Linked DNA regions of Homo sapiens: regions 1, 2, 3 and 4 are each linked to region 5. Evidence: promoter capture Hi-C in 16 types of primary human blood cells and fetal thymus (Javierre and others, 2016). All regions are on one chromosome and are shown on one strand. The core of a region is centred on a gene start or on the middle of the fragment in contact, and the rest is flanking DNA. Distances in the headings are between cores, read along the strand shown. Region 1 has its middle 94 kb from the start of LINC01626. Region 2 has its middle 130 kb from the start of B3GAT2. Region 3 has its middle 150 kb from the start of B3GAT2. Region 4 has its middle 110 kb from the start of B3GAT2. Region 5 holds the start of OGFRL1 (opioid growth factor receptor like 1).

Region 1 (2,700 bases), core at 168-2,667, 230 kb before region 5:
ACCGTTCTGTGATGTTTGCACAAAGACAAAATCTTCTAATGATGCATTTCTCAGAACTGCCCCTGTCATTAAGTGACATATGACTGTATATACATACACATACATATACACATATATATTTACATATATCTAATAAGTACATGTATATCATCTAAAATGACCTCCCCTCAAGAAATATCAATCTTAGCTTTTTGAGACGTAAATTTTCAAGTTTATTTATATTTATATTTAACATAGCAGTAATGCATGCACCTGAAATAAAATTTTGAAGTGACCTAAAACTAATATTGTTATTAAATTTTTAAAATATTTGTCTATCTCCAAATAATAATTTTTAAAGTGTAAACATCACCTAACATTATTTTCAATTAGTAAACTACTTTTAGAGCAGTTTTAGGTTCACGGCAAAATTGAACAGAAAGTTGAGAGTCCACGTATACCTTCTGCCCCTGCATATGCCTCCCTTACTATTAACATTTGGCACCAAAGTGGTACATATTTAAACATCCACGAACTTAGAATGATGCATCGTTATCACCTAGAGCCTGAAGCTTACCTTAGGGTTCACTCTTGGTGTTGTACATTCTTAACATATTACTTTGCCATATTTGCTGAACTTGTTTCTGTTTAAAAAAATAAAACATTACATATTCAGTTAAAGCCCTTTTGTACCTCCTCACTCCCTTCTTTTTACACAGTATGAGTGCCCACATGCACACACAGCCACCCATTGCCCTCACCATCTTTGTAAAGATAAACAATATTTTAATGTTGGTGGATGTTTTGCTCTCCTTTAAAAAATAATATTACTACATATGCATGTATAGTATAGTGTAACATAGTATGCTATAATATAGTGATATAATTTCTTAAACTTTTACTCGACTTTCTCAACTAAATGTCTTTAAAGTTGTGATAAGGGAAAGCATACGATATATATAATTTTGTAACTTGCTTTTTTCACATGACATGTTTTCATGATAAACCCATGCTGATATATATGAATCTAGTTTATTTAAATTGCCATACAATATTTTATTTGCTAACTATATCAAGCTATATGTATTTTTCTGCTGATGGATACATAAATTATGTGCTCTTTTCTGAATTTATAAATAATACTACAAATAATACATATTCTTTCTGCATATCTATGTTCATGTGCCAACATTTCCCTACATTACATAGACCTAGGAGGAGAATTTTAAGGTTTTAAGGTATACATATCTTCAGTTTTCCTAGGTATTGGTAAACTATTCTCCAATGTAGTTATGACAATTTATATTCTTACCAACAGCTGGCATTGTTAAACTTTTAATTTTGGTCTTTCTGATAGTTTGAAAATTGACTGTTGTCTTAATTTGCATTTCTCTAATTACAATTTAGGCTGCATATTCTTTCAAATGATTGCTAGTCATTCAGGTGTCCTCTTTCAAGAATTGCCCTTTAACCTTTGCTCGTTTTCCATTGGATTTTAAATCTTTTTCTCATTGACTGTAGGAGTGTAAGAGCTCTCTATGTACTCTGGTTACTAATCTTTTGTCTGCTGTGTGTCCCACATACCTTTCTTGTTTGATTACTTACTTTCCTTTTTTTTTTTTTTTTTTGAGATGGCGTCTCTGTCTGTTGCCCCGGCTGGAGTGCAGTGGCACAATCTTGGTTCACTAGAACCTCTGCCTCCCAGGTTCAAGCAATTCTCCTGTCTCAGCCTTCTGAGCAACTGGGACTACAGGCGCATGACACCACGCCTGGCTAATTTTTGTATTTTTAGTAGAGACAGGGTTCCACCATATTGGTCAGGCTGGCCTCGAACTCCTGAACTGACGTGATCCTCCAGCCTCAGCCTCCCGAAGTGCTGGGATTACAGGTGTGAGCCACCACATCCGGCCTTATTACTTACTTTCAACCTGTGTATGATGTCTAATGTCACACAAATTTTTAATTTTAATATATTGCACTCATTAATCTTTTCCTTTATGATTTATGCTCTTTGTGTATGCACTTAGGTTTACTTCCATAGAATAGAAACATAACTATTTGGCTTAAAAAAACTGTAAATATGTTGAAACTTGATAAAACATTCAAATTGTTTGAATTATTGAAGAGTTAGTACATTTACCATCAATCTGTGAGAGAACTGATTTACCATATTCTTGTAATGGTTAATCTTATGTGTCAACTTGGCTAGGCCACAGTTCCCAGATGTCTGGTCAAACACATCTGGATTTTGCCATGAAGGCATTTTCTACATGAGATTAACATTTAAATCAGTAAGTAAGCTTTGAGTAAAGCAGATTACCCTCCATAATGTGAGTGAGCCTCATTCAATCATTAAAAGTCTTAAGAAAAAAAAAACTGACCTCTCCTAAGGAAGAGGAAATTCTACAAAAGGCTGCCTTCAGCCTCAAACTGCAATATCAACTTTTTCCTGGGTGTCTAGACTGCTGGCTTATCCTGTAGATTTTGGATTCGTCAGGCTACACAATCACACTAAGCCAATTCCTTAAAATAAATCACTATCTCTCTCTCTCTCTCTCTCTCTCTCTCTCTCTCTCTCTATATATATATATATATATATATATATATACACATCCTATTGGTTCCGTTTTCCTGGGGAACTCTGACTAATATAGTTATATTACACAATGTTTTGTTTCCTTGTAAGTTAGATATATATGTAGCCCAGTGTCATTCATGGTT
Region 2 (2,700 bases), core at 61-2,560, 200 kb after region 5:
GACATGGTAAGAAGTACATTTTAGGATAGATTTTCTGAATGTTATAAAAGATGGAAATGACAACACCACTGATCACAAGGGATTTGAATTGACCAGAAATTGTTTAGAGACTGCGCTATAAAAAAAAAAAAAAAGAAAAATCTGTTTCCTAAGTGTGCTGAAATGTGTTTACAGCCTTACATAAATTATTGAACAGTCAGCATCCTGAAAGCACATTTACACTTTCGTCCTTGGAAATGAATCAAATGTGTAATGAGGAAGACCAGAGCAGAGATGTAAAATGATTCCAGGCTGTCTACATTTACAGTATAATGGGCTTGGTGGGATTAAGATATGACTTAAAGGTTCACATCACTAACCTCTTTATGTTTCATCGCTCTCTTTGTGCAAAAAAGGTTCTGACTAAGTGAGCCCTATGTTTCTTACAGCTCCAGAGATTAAGGCTATGCTTTTCAGTATGGCCATGTAATATTTTTTTGACCTCAATCTAATTTTTTTTTAACCCAGGCCTCAGTGTAATAACTTATCATGCTCTTGTCTTTACGTTTCCATTTATAATGATTTGAAACTTTCCTCTCTTCAACAGTAGGAAACTTTTCCACTTTTCAACAACCCAAATCTACTTATTCCTTGGCCTACACCTGCAAATCTCATGTTTCACAGATTGTAGTTAGGGTCCTACCTAGTAACTACACTCTGAACTAGCCTGAAGTTTTTTTCCATCTCAGTTACTCACTCTGTCACTCACAACTCTTTAATTCATTTCTAGATCACATAGAAGCTTTTGAATATATATTAGTTCTCTATTGCTGCAAAACAGGATGAGAGATGGAACTGAAATGGGGTGAGGGTGAGTTCACTGAAAGTCTTTATGAGAATGACAGTGCACTTCAGATTCCCCACCCTAATCCTCATCCTTTATCTCTCGTCACTATCCCAACACTAAGGGCATAGTAGGGCATTTTACTCCTAGTCAAGATAGAGGGGTCATTTCTAAAGCAACTGAATTAACCATCTGGAAAAGCTTAAGGTTTAAGGTGTGGGATTGGAGTTTCAGCTAGCTTCCTACCAGCTAGTGCTTATCAGCAGACACACCCTGCCCTACCTCGTGATCCATATATGCACAGTATACTCAGAGCGATGTCCTGCCTATGGAAAAACTCACCTACTGTCACAAAGCAGGTGTGATATGTAGGTAGAGAGATTCTTCTGGCATCAACATTAGCATCAACATTAAAAAGAAAAACCAAGGCAAACTAACAGAAAATCTGACTCTGTTATCTGAAATGTTATTCAGGAGACAAAAGAGCACTAAAAAAAATAAAGCTACCAAGCACTGGGATGAGGCCATAGGAGACTAAGAAAAATAAGCAATGTTAGTAATATCTTTTGAAGAGAAAAGAAAGAAAGAAATGTCCATATCAAAAAAAAATATGCTTGCAAAGAAAATTTATGGAAGGACTACAGGTAAAAATAACAAGTATACCTTATTTAAATAAGCTGATTTTAAATTCAGAAACAAGCATAGAATCATAAAAAATATATATGTTAAAAAACGTCTCTGGCAGAAGGAATATCAGTTTCTATTAAGCTTTGAAGAATTTCTTCTCTTTCTCACTGCTACACAGGGAGGGAAAATTATATTCTAAGGTAGAAACAGAGGTGGCCTGGAAAGAGATGCTTGGGCCATCTTCCGAGGTCAATCACAGTGTGATCCAGAAAGCACTGAGTTCAGAGCAAGCAAACCTTGTGAAATGGGAGGTTTTCCCTTATTCCCCTCACCAGGTGTGCAATGGTGGTGTGGCTCACTTCTTTGGTGCTCCACTGCTCAAACCCCTAGGGGAAGCATGAGGATGGTCAGGTCATGGGGGGCAGTTTTGGGCTCCGACCCATGGCAGCATCTAGGGTTGAGTGTTTCCAGCTCCCGAAGCCCCAGTGGGTGTGTGTTACAGTGTGCTCTTTCGGCTTTGCTGTCTGCAAGTGGCTTGTGTTAAACAGCTCAATTAGACCCTTTGCCTTATTTCAAGGACAGCGGGCTTTCTGTATCCCAGGGTTCTTGCCCTAGTGTACTGGAAAAATCGGATCATGAAACAGGAGTGTTTGTCCTCACTTGGGTCCGTGGGCACAGGCCCGAGGGTGGAGCCCTCGCCAGGGACCCAGCCCTTCTCTACCCAGCACTTCCCTGACCCTCTACTGTATCACTTGGGCTCTAGTTCTGTCCCAGCCGGTAATTACTGAGCACCCTTAAACAAATCATTTCACATTTATGGGCCACTTCGTATGTAAAATGAGGCCATTTAATTACATGATCTGTGAGGCCCATTTCAGCTATGAATTGGTGATTTTTTTTTCACAGAGAGACTTCAGAAATGTACCAAAAGCAAAATCTGAACTAAGATGACCCATTTTTTGCTCTATTTTTATTCAAGAGAAAACAGCAGCATACAGACCACAGCCATTCAAGAAAGCCTCACCATCTACCTAAAGAATAGTTTTACATCCTCACTTTGAAATAGACATTTTGAAATACACCTAAACATACAGACAGAGAATAGAAATATACCAAAGGACATGTCGATACAAAGTAACATTTTTTAATTTATGGGGAAATGGCAAAAAATAATATCATGGCTTGATGTGTGGAGCTGATCAGAGTCCTGAGTGATGAGTAGGATTTACTTCCTGAGTCTGGATTTGTTA
Region 3 (2,700 bases), core at 173-2,672, 180 kb after region 5:
TAGCTAGCTGCCATTAACCAGACTTTTTCATCGGCCACCCCAGAATGGCATGAATGGAGAGGTCACAGTGGTCAAACTGATAGAAAGATGTGCACCCAAGAGCATAGACTTCTATTTACCAAAGCCAATCTGGCTATTGCTGCCTCTGAATGTCTAACCTGCTAGGAAGAGAGACCAATATTGAGCCCCCAATATGGTTTATTCCTCAGAGACCAACTGACCACTGGGTGGCAAGTTGCTACCGGGGACCCCTTCTATCCTGGAAGGGCTGGCATTCACTCTCCCAGGGCTGGAAACCTATCCCCTGTATGGTTTTCCTTCACCTGTCCTCAAAACCTCATCCAGCACCACTATCTGGGGCCTAATTCATAGGCTTGAGATCCACACAGACTAGTATCTAACCGGGGCAAGCTTAAGGGAAATGTGGAGGGAAGCTATTACCACCCCGAGGAAAGAGTGAATCTGGAGTCTAGTGAGAATGGTAACTATGAAAGCACATGGAGGGGCACAGCCTCTGTTGGACCAAAGCAGGGAAGACTGGCAGAAAAAAAAAAATCTGAAACTTTTTATCCACCTTCCCTTCAATTTCGTGGTTCTTCCTCCCAGCCACCCGCCTCACCCCCATTGCCTGAATCCAACCTGGTGATGATATCCCAAAGTCTTCACCTTCTGGGAAATAGAGCAAGGCACAGAACAGAAAATGGATCTGGAAAGAGGATAAATGGAGGCTACTGCACACTCTGTCACTTCCCTCACCATGAGATATGGGGGATTGTGCCCCTGACCACTTGTTATATCACACAGTGTTCATGCAGAAGCAGCCAGCCTCATAGAGTTTGGGAATGGCTTTGTGAGGGCACGCTGAAGTGCCAGCTCAGAGACAGCACTCCGAAAGATAGGGTGCCATCCTTCTTGATACACTGTACACATTAAATTAGAAATTTCAAAATGGCACTCTCACCACAGCAAGAATACCTGGGTTTAGGAATGGAAGGGTTCTTCTCCCTGTTCCACTGTACTGTGGATGCACATGTGCAATAGCCCCAAAGCAAGGGTGGGATTACCAAGGGTTTTGACCCTGCAGCAGTGAAGGTTTGAATCACACCTTCCAAAGGCAAACCACCACAACCTGCTGAGGGGACAGCTGAGGGTGATGGGAATTTAGAGTAGAGAGTGGAGGACGGGGAGGAAGAGGAACGCATGTGGCCCTGAGACCAACTACAGTGGCAGGGACTTAGTTTGTTCTTAATAGAGTAACCTGCCTGTCTTAGTCTGCTCAGGCTGCTATAACAACAAACAGACAAACAAACAAACAAAACATCAACTGAGTGACTTATAAACAACAGAAATTTATTTCTCACAGTTCTGGAAGCTGAGAAGGCCAAAGTCAAGCTCTCACCAGATTCAGTATCTGGTGAAGATTCATTGCCTGATTCACAGGTGGCGCCTTCTAGCTGTGTTCTCAGTGGTGGAAGGGGCAAGGCAGCTCTCTCGGGCTTCTTTTATAAGGACACTAACCCCATTAGGAGGTGGGGCCTTTAGGAGGTGATTAGGTCATGAGGGCTTTGCCCTGCCAAAGGCCCACCCCCTAATACCACACTGGGGGTTAGGTTTCAACATACGAACATTCCGACCATAGCACTGCCTCTTTTAAGTTTCTCCTCAGAGAGGCCCACTGGAATCATTGAGGTTCTATTCCCAAACCTGGATGGAAAAAGTACATCTGTTCAGTACAAGGGGTGGATGTTATTGGCCATGAAAAGGAGCTTCCCAGATGTGCTGCAGCAAAGAGCACAGTGAGTTGACAGCCCCAGGGGCTGCCACACTCCTGCCTGGGCCCCATGTGCCTCAGCCTGCTGCTCCCTGCTAATGGTGGAGCATAGTAGGTGAACTACAGCAGGCTCTGCCTGTGAGACTCAGCACTCTTCTAATGGGCTCAGGGATTCCCTGCTGGCCTGGCCAGATCTTTCCCAGAACTGCTCCTCTGTGTGAGATTCTCGCTACCCAGTCCAGGGCTTCCTCTTCTTCACAGGGCTCTGACCTGCATCACAAGCTGAGGCTGTGTCTCAGAGGAACCACACAGGCAGTGGCGTTCCTAATGGCAGGACTAGCTTTTTAGCTCAATGATTTGTGGTTGGTTCAAGTCCTTCAAGAAGCAGCTGCTAAGATAAGACCCATTTATTGGGGGGCCCACATGTGAAGAATAAAGGGGGAGATCCAGAGAAGGCGATCCAGTGTTCACTTGACTGATGGCCACCAAAAAGATAAGTCCATATCCCAGAACCTGGGAATGTGGCCATATCTGGGGGGAAAAAAAAGAGTCTTTGCAGAAGTAACAAAGTTAGGGATCTTCAGATGACATCATCCAACATTATCCAGATGAGCCATAAATCCAATGATAATGACTTATAATGGAAAGACAGAGAAAGCTTTGGGGCAGAGATTGGAGTGATGCAAGCCAAGGAATTCTTTGAGCCATCAGAAGCTGGATGCAGTAAGGAAAAATTCTCCCACGAGCCTCTAGAGGAAGCACAGCCTTGCTGACACCTTGATTTAAACTGGCCTCCAAAACTGTGAGGGAATAAATTTCTGTTGCTTGAAGCCACCAACTGTGTGGTAATTTGTTACAGCTGCCCTGGCAAATTAATACTGGTAGGAAGAGCCTTCAGATCATAATGGAGGTCAGACCTTATAATGAGC
Region 4 (2,700 bases), core at 59-2,558, 220 kb after region 5:
CCTGTGGCTTCTCAAGCAAGTATCATAGAAACAGAAATTATAAGTAGTTATTATATCAGGTGAGATCTCACATAAATAGGGTACGTGTGTTCCTTATAAGTGCGTTGCAGAAATGGCAAAGTGATTTTCTGGTATTTCTTGAGTTTATGACAGTGTTGCATGCAAATGCTTTATCTTCCGTAAGAGATACTGTGTTCCTGGTGTACTTTGTTTATGAAGAGTCTTGCTCGTATTTATATATATTTTTAAACTTCAGTAAAAATAATCATCAGAAAAAATAAATGCACCTAAATGTCCCAAATTCCATGTCTAACTATTGTTATATTAAGCCCCATTTGTCTCGGCTTTTTAGAACTAGAATCTAAACAAAATATTCACTTAATAAATAATTGGTATATTCATGTAAATATATGGCATTTTTGGCTTAATGATGGTGTTCAAGTTTTTCTACACCCTACTTCCTCTGTTGTTCTGTGATTTGATGGCCTATTTTTTGTGTATACTTATATAGAAACTGAAGGGCTCTGCAGAGCGTACATTATCCTCATTCTAAAGGGTTAGATAACAAAGGACCAAACTTGGGCCACAGCCCAATTGTTCATTTTTATTTTGGTGAGAACATTTCATTATCTTCCTGTAGGATCTAATAAAGTATTGTTTAACTGCTTCTGAGTAGTTCTTATAAACTATTCTATGTACCTCCTATTCTACTTGATTTCATTGAAAGAATGTCTCCAATTGAATTGTGATAGATAGCAACTCAAGATTGGTTTCTACAGAACAAAATAGTAAACCCTAAGTCACACTTCCCTTTGAAATCCTGCATCTTGGCAGGTGTTATTAAAACTCTTTGGTTTGCATTTAAATAAGGTGCTAATTTATTCCTTTACACGATTTTTATGAGAAACTAATTTTCCAGAGCATTTTCAAATCTGTGGTTTAATATTTGCAGACTTGAAGAAATACTGTTTTGCTGCCAGCATCTGGTCAATGACATATTGTTTATTTCCCGATGCACTATCAGGCACAGTTTTAAATAATAAAGGCAGATTACATTTATTCTTCTTTAATAAAAGCAAATTCTATGTCTTACTCAGTAATCATTTTAAAAGAATCAAAATACAGTCAATAAAAATAAATTAATCATTTTTGCCATTTACTTTTCCACAAATTAATGTTAATTATACTTAGATGGAAATGTCTTTGCTGTCAAATTCCTCCCAGAAAACATATTATGTCTGATTTTTTTTAATTCTGGCTTTATTTGGATACTCAGAGGGTATAAAAAATCTACTAGACCTTTTAGTATAATTATAATAGTGACAATATATTTAATCTGAGATTTTGGTTTTACCAAGGCAATAAGAAACAATCATAGTTTATTTCCAACCATCGAATCTATAATCCCTCATTGTCAATTGCCCTTAGATCCTATGGGAACTTTTTCCCTGAAGGGGAAAAAGAAGACCTTGAGAGCTTGTAGCCTAGGAAAATGACATACTGAAAAGGAAATATTGAGTAAGGAAATAACTGAAAAGTAAGCCAAAGAGAAAAACTAACACTCACCAACAATCTGAAAGTCTGGTATATTTTATTTATAAAATTTTTGTTTTTCAGTGTTGCATATGGAAATTTGTAAAATAAAATAAAATTTTTGTTTTATCTCAGATACATGGCCATAAAGCCATTTTGAACATTTTATGACTAAAACCCAAAGTCTACGTCCTTCTGTATTATATTGTAGCAAGAGAACTCTTTGTGCTAATTGTGTTACTGATGCTACTGAATTTGCCATTCATATCACAGCTTTTCAGAATTTTGATTACCCACAATGGTTATATTTTAAGGGAAAACATATATTTTATCTGCTAAAGAGTTCATAGCATTTGACCATCCCAAGTTCTTATTTGCCCCCCTGAGACAGGGAGACAGGGATTTTACCAACTTACAGATGTAAAACCCTGAGCACCCAGAGACTAGTTTACTGTTTTACCAAAGGTCACACCAGCTGTGGCAGAGCTAGGATCAGAAAACCAAGCTGAGCTGGTTTTTCCACTCGTGTGTTTTCTACACACTCCAAGGTTTTGGCTTCTATTCTTCTTTCAGGTTTCAACACAATTTAGTGGACATTTAATGATGAGAATAACATATGCTTTCTTGATAAACAAAAATGCACCATGGCTATGCTCAAACAATCAAGTCATCTCAGTGTTTGTGAATCTTCTTTCTCCTCTGCTTCCTGCAGAACAGGGAGGTATTTAATATCAATTAAAGATGCATTTAATAGTTTTCACTGAGGCTGAGCCATCTGTTACCAGTTCTGTTCAACTTACGGTTCTAGAAAAAAAATATTCCTCAATACCTGAATTACATGAACACCATTTCAAAGTTTGTATTCATTCACTATCATCCCAAAAATATAAAAAGTTTAATATAGGAAATTATTTGATTTACCAAATTTAGATTGTTATCTAGGCAAGAAACCTCCCAATTTTAAAAAGGAAATGAGGGAAGAGGTTTGGTAAAGATTGAAAAGATGAGAAAGGAACAAAGTTAGTATGAAAAATTAATTGAGAGAATGATAAAATGATGTGAAAAAAATACATCCCTTCCTCCTAATATGCTTTATATTGATCTTTTTTCATAACTATATATTTCACTTAATAGTTTGAGTCACTGAAGCTTGCCTGTTCTCATTTG
Region 5 (2,700 bases), core at 1-2,500:
GCGGTGTTAGCTGTAATATTTAGGTTATGATTCCCCCAAAACCCTGTGGTCACATTGGACTTTGGGCTCCATTTTCCCAATCTCCATCGCCCCTAGCTGATAAAGAGAAGGGCCTAATGTGGAGCGGCAAACCTGAACCACCTCCAGGATGCACACTTCTTCAGGGGGTCGGCTACATATTTCCTCCTTTTTAAAGTTCCTGATTATTTTCAGTCCATCAGAGGTTAAGGGGCTTATCTCTTGACTAACCTCTCCTCCAAGCTGTATTAGTCAAACAGTTCAAACACAGTTGGATCAACAAGTCTTCTGGTGAAATAAGATTCGTGAAGAATGCCCTGAATCCTAGGTTGAAAGGCCTGAGTTGGGCAGAACAGTGACGTATGAACTTCAGATGAGGGCCTACACTTCTGACGGCTTAGACCCCACTGTAGGGGAGAGCGCTGGCTGCTTGCACTTGTAGCCCCACCTTATTCTGAGTAATTTTTTTTTTTTTTTTTTTTTTTTTTTTTTTTACCAATAACACACACTAGAGGGGTTGTCAAAATCCTCTATTTTTAGACAGGTTCCTCCCACCCCACCTTCGCATAATCCAGCTGCTCTGCAGAGGCAAAGAAAACACCCATTCAAGTTGGGTTCTGCCTTGAGGGACTTCCTCGCCGTGCCCTCGGCCAGGCCCCAGGCCGGCAGTGGGAGGGTCCGGCGCTTTGGGCTCCTGCAGGCCCCCGGGCTCCACCGGGAGACAGGTCAGCCGCGGCGCGGAGGGGTCGGGTCGCAGCGGCGAGCAGCCACCTGGCGCCCCTGGCCTCCGAGCGCGAGGGCGGCTTGGCACTTGCCCCTCTGGGGTGTCGGGGCGCCCCAGCCCGACCCGAGGCCACCGCTGGGCCGCGTACCTGCTCGGCGCCCGCCGCCTCGGCGTCCTCGTCCGGCGCGGGGCTGGCGCCGGGCCGCCCGCCGGCTTGCTCCGGGGGCTGCGCGGGCTGCTCGGACTCCTGCCCCGGGCCCTCGCTGCCGCCGCCCGGCCCTGGTTCTTCGGGCTCGGGCTCCGAGTCGGTCTGCCAGGTGGAGTCGCAGTCCTCCACGGTGGTGGGCTCGCGGAAGCTGACCCCGCCGAGCAGGTTGCCCATTGAAGAGGCGGCGGCGGGCGCGGGGCTGCGGGGCTGCGGGGCGCAAGCTGCGGCAGGCGCTCTAGGGCCCGGGCATGGCCGCGGCGAGGGCGCTGGGCGGCAGCCTAGGCGCGCCCGCCCCGCACTGCCTCAGCGCGGCGAGCGGCGGACAGGCACCCTCGCGGGGAGGAGCCGGCGGCCCCGGGACCGCCGCCGCGCGCGCCTGAACCCGCCCATCCGGCTCCTTCTCCTCCCCACAGGCGGGAGCTGCCGCCGCCCAGAGCCCCCAGGGGAGCCAACTGCGGCCCCCAGCCGAGCGCCACCGGCCCCAGGCCGCGCCTCCCTTCCACGTTTCTCCCCGGAACACCTGCCTTCACGCGGCCCCCGGCGGCCCCCGGAGTGGATTGGGGTCGGCTACTACCCTCGCCGCCCGGAGCCGGGGGACGCCCTCCCGGGGCATCTCCCAGCTGAGCGGGATGAGGGATCCCGCCCAGCTCCTGGAGCTGAGGACTGGCGTGGACGTGGTGTCGAAGAGGTGTCACCGTCAGCAGGCGGGTCCTGTCCACACCCCCTCCCCCTCTCCCTGGTCCAGGAGGAAGACACTTTAGCTGCAGCAGAGGACAAAAGCTGATGGTGCCGGGCACCATATAAACAGGAAATCCCAGCTGCCACAACTGTACTTAGGGCAGCCACCTAGAGTCCTTGTGGTCTAGAAAAAGTCAGAGCTATCAGTCACCTCATCTAATGAGCAATCGCTCGTGAAACAAAAGGAACAGTAACAACTGGACCATCACATTGATTTGCGGGTAACCTTACACCCACTACAAATTGGTGCTCCGTGTAGGCAAAAATCTCAGAATCAGTAGAACAGATGGGCTGTTTCTAATGGAAGAAGCCTCGGCCCTGTGGTCTGTTCTGCAAATGAAAGGAGGAGGGAGAACTGTGTTAGGGAAGTTCTTTCTTTTTTCTGTTCTGTTCTGTTCTGTTCTGTTCTGTTCTGTTCTGTTCTGTTCTGTTCTGTTCTGTTGTTCTGTTCTTTCTTTTCTTTCTTTTTGAGACAGAGTCTCCCTCTGTTGCCCAGGCTGCAGTGCAGAGGCGCGATCTCGGCTCACTGCAACCTCCGCCTCCTGGTTTCAAGCAATTCTCCTGCCTCAGCCTCCCAATAGCTGGGATTACAGGCATAAGCCTATAGAAGTACGTAAAGATAAGGTAGTATTATCAAATATGTGACCCAGAGAAAAGTGACTGTTGTAAAATGTGTCTTCTGGCTTTCTAACTAGAAGGGAAGCCTCTTTGCAGGCAGCCCCCGTCTGAAAGTGTGTCTGTATTTACAGTGCTGTCAACTTGGTGGATGCTCAGTAAACATTTGTTAAATATGGACTAAGAAAGATGAGCTAGATATTTGAAGATTAAACTGTTGAACTTGGAATGAATAGTTTCTTTTCAAATGTTTCATGATGAAGTAGGAAGCCAAATCATGTTAGATGGACTGTTTCTAAGGGAAGAATCAGGTAAACCAGCTGCCTATTCCATGGATAAATCAGGATTACCTAAGCTCTTCATGCACTGCAACAAGACATCTAGGCTGTAGCTCTGT

Evidence for each region. The method cuts DNA at HindIII sites, captures the fragments that hold promoters and counts their contacts. A CHiCAGO score of 5 or more calls a contact.
Region 1: a fragment that was not itself captured here is called in contact with the fragment with the promoter of OGFRL1 in region 5 in 1 of 17 cell types (endothelial precursors); the score reaches 6.3 in endothelial precursors.
Region 2: a fragment that was not itself captured here is called in contact with the fragment with the promoter of OGFRL1 in region 5 in 1 of 17 cell types (neutrophils); the score reaches 6.2 in neutrophils.
Region 3: a contact is called between a fragment that was not itself captured here and the fragment with the promoter of OGFRL1 in region 5, in 1 of 17 cell types (neutrophils). The highest score is 6.2, in neutrophils.
Region 4: a contact is called between a fragment that was not itself captured here and the fragment with the promoter of OGFRL1 in region 5, in 1 of 17 cell types (neutrophils). The highest score is 9.6, in neutrophils.

What each region holds. Positions count from the first base shown.
Region 1 is chr6:71,514,147-71,516,846 of GRCh38, reverse strand. No RefSeq gene overlaps it. Among named protein-coding and RNA genes, the nearest start is that of LINC01626, 94 kb to the right of the region's middle. The HindIII fragment of the contact is 1,728 bases long and covers 554-2,281 here.
Region 2 is chr6:71,085,936-71,088,635 of GRCh38, reverse strand. No RefSeq gene overlaps it. Among named protein-coding and RNA genes, the nearest start is that of B3GAT2, 130 kb to the right of the region's middle. The HindIII fragment of the contact is 567 bases long and covers 1,027-1,593 here.
Region 3 is chr6:71,103,030-71,105,729 of GRCh38, reverse strand. No RefSeq gene overlaps it. Among named protein-coding and RNA genes, the nearest start is that of B3GAT2, 150 kb to the right of the region's middle. The HindIII fragment of the contact is 2,018 bases long and covers 414-2,431 here.
Region 4 is chr6:71,069,620-71,072,319 of GRCh38, reverse strand. No RefSeq gene overlaps it. Among named protein-coding and RNA genes, the nearest start is that of B3GAT2, 110 kb to the right of the region's middle. The HindIII fragment of the contact is 2,753 bases long and covers 1-2,684 here.
Region 5 is chr6:71,287,361-71,290,060 of GRCh38, reverse strand. OGFRL1 (opioid growth factor receptor like 1) reads right to left here and starts at 1,250. Exons shown (of 7, transcript NM_024576.5): 1 at 891-1,250. The coding sequence starts at 1,124. The region is part of intron 3 of LOC124901339 (a long non-coding RNA gene); the gene reads left to right. RefSeq lists a silencer at 538-1,597. The HindIII fragment of the contact is 6,418 bases long and covers 1-2,700 here.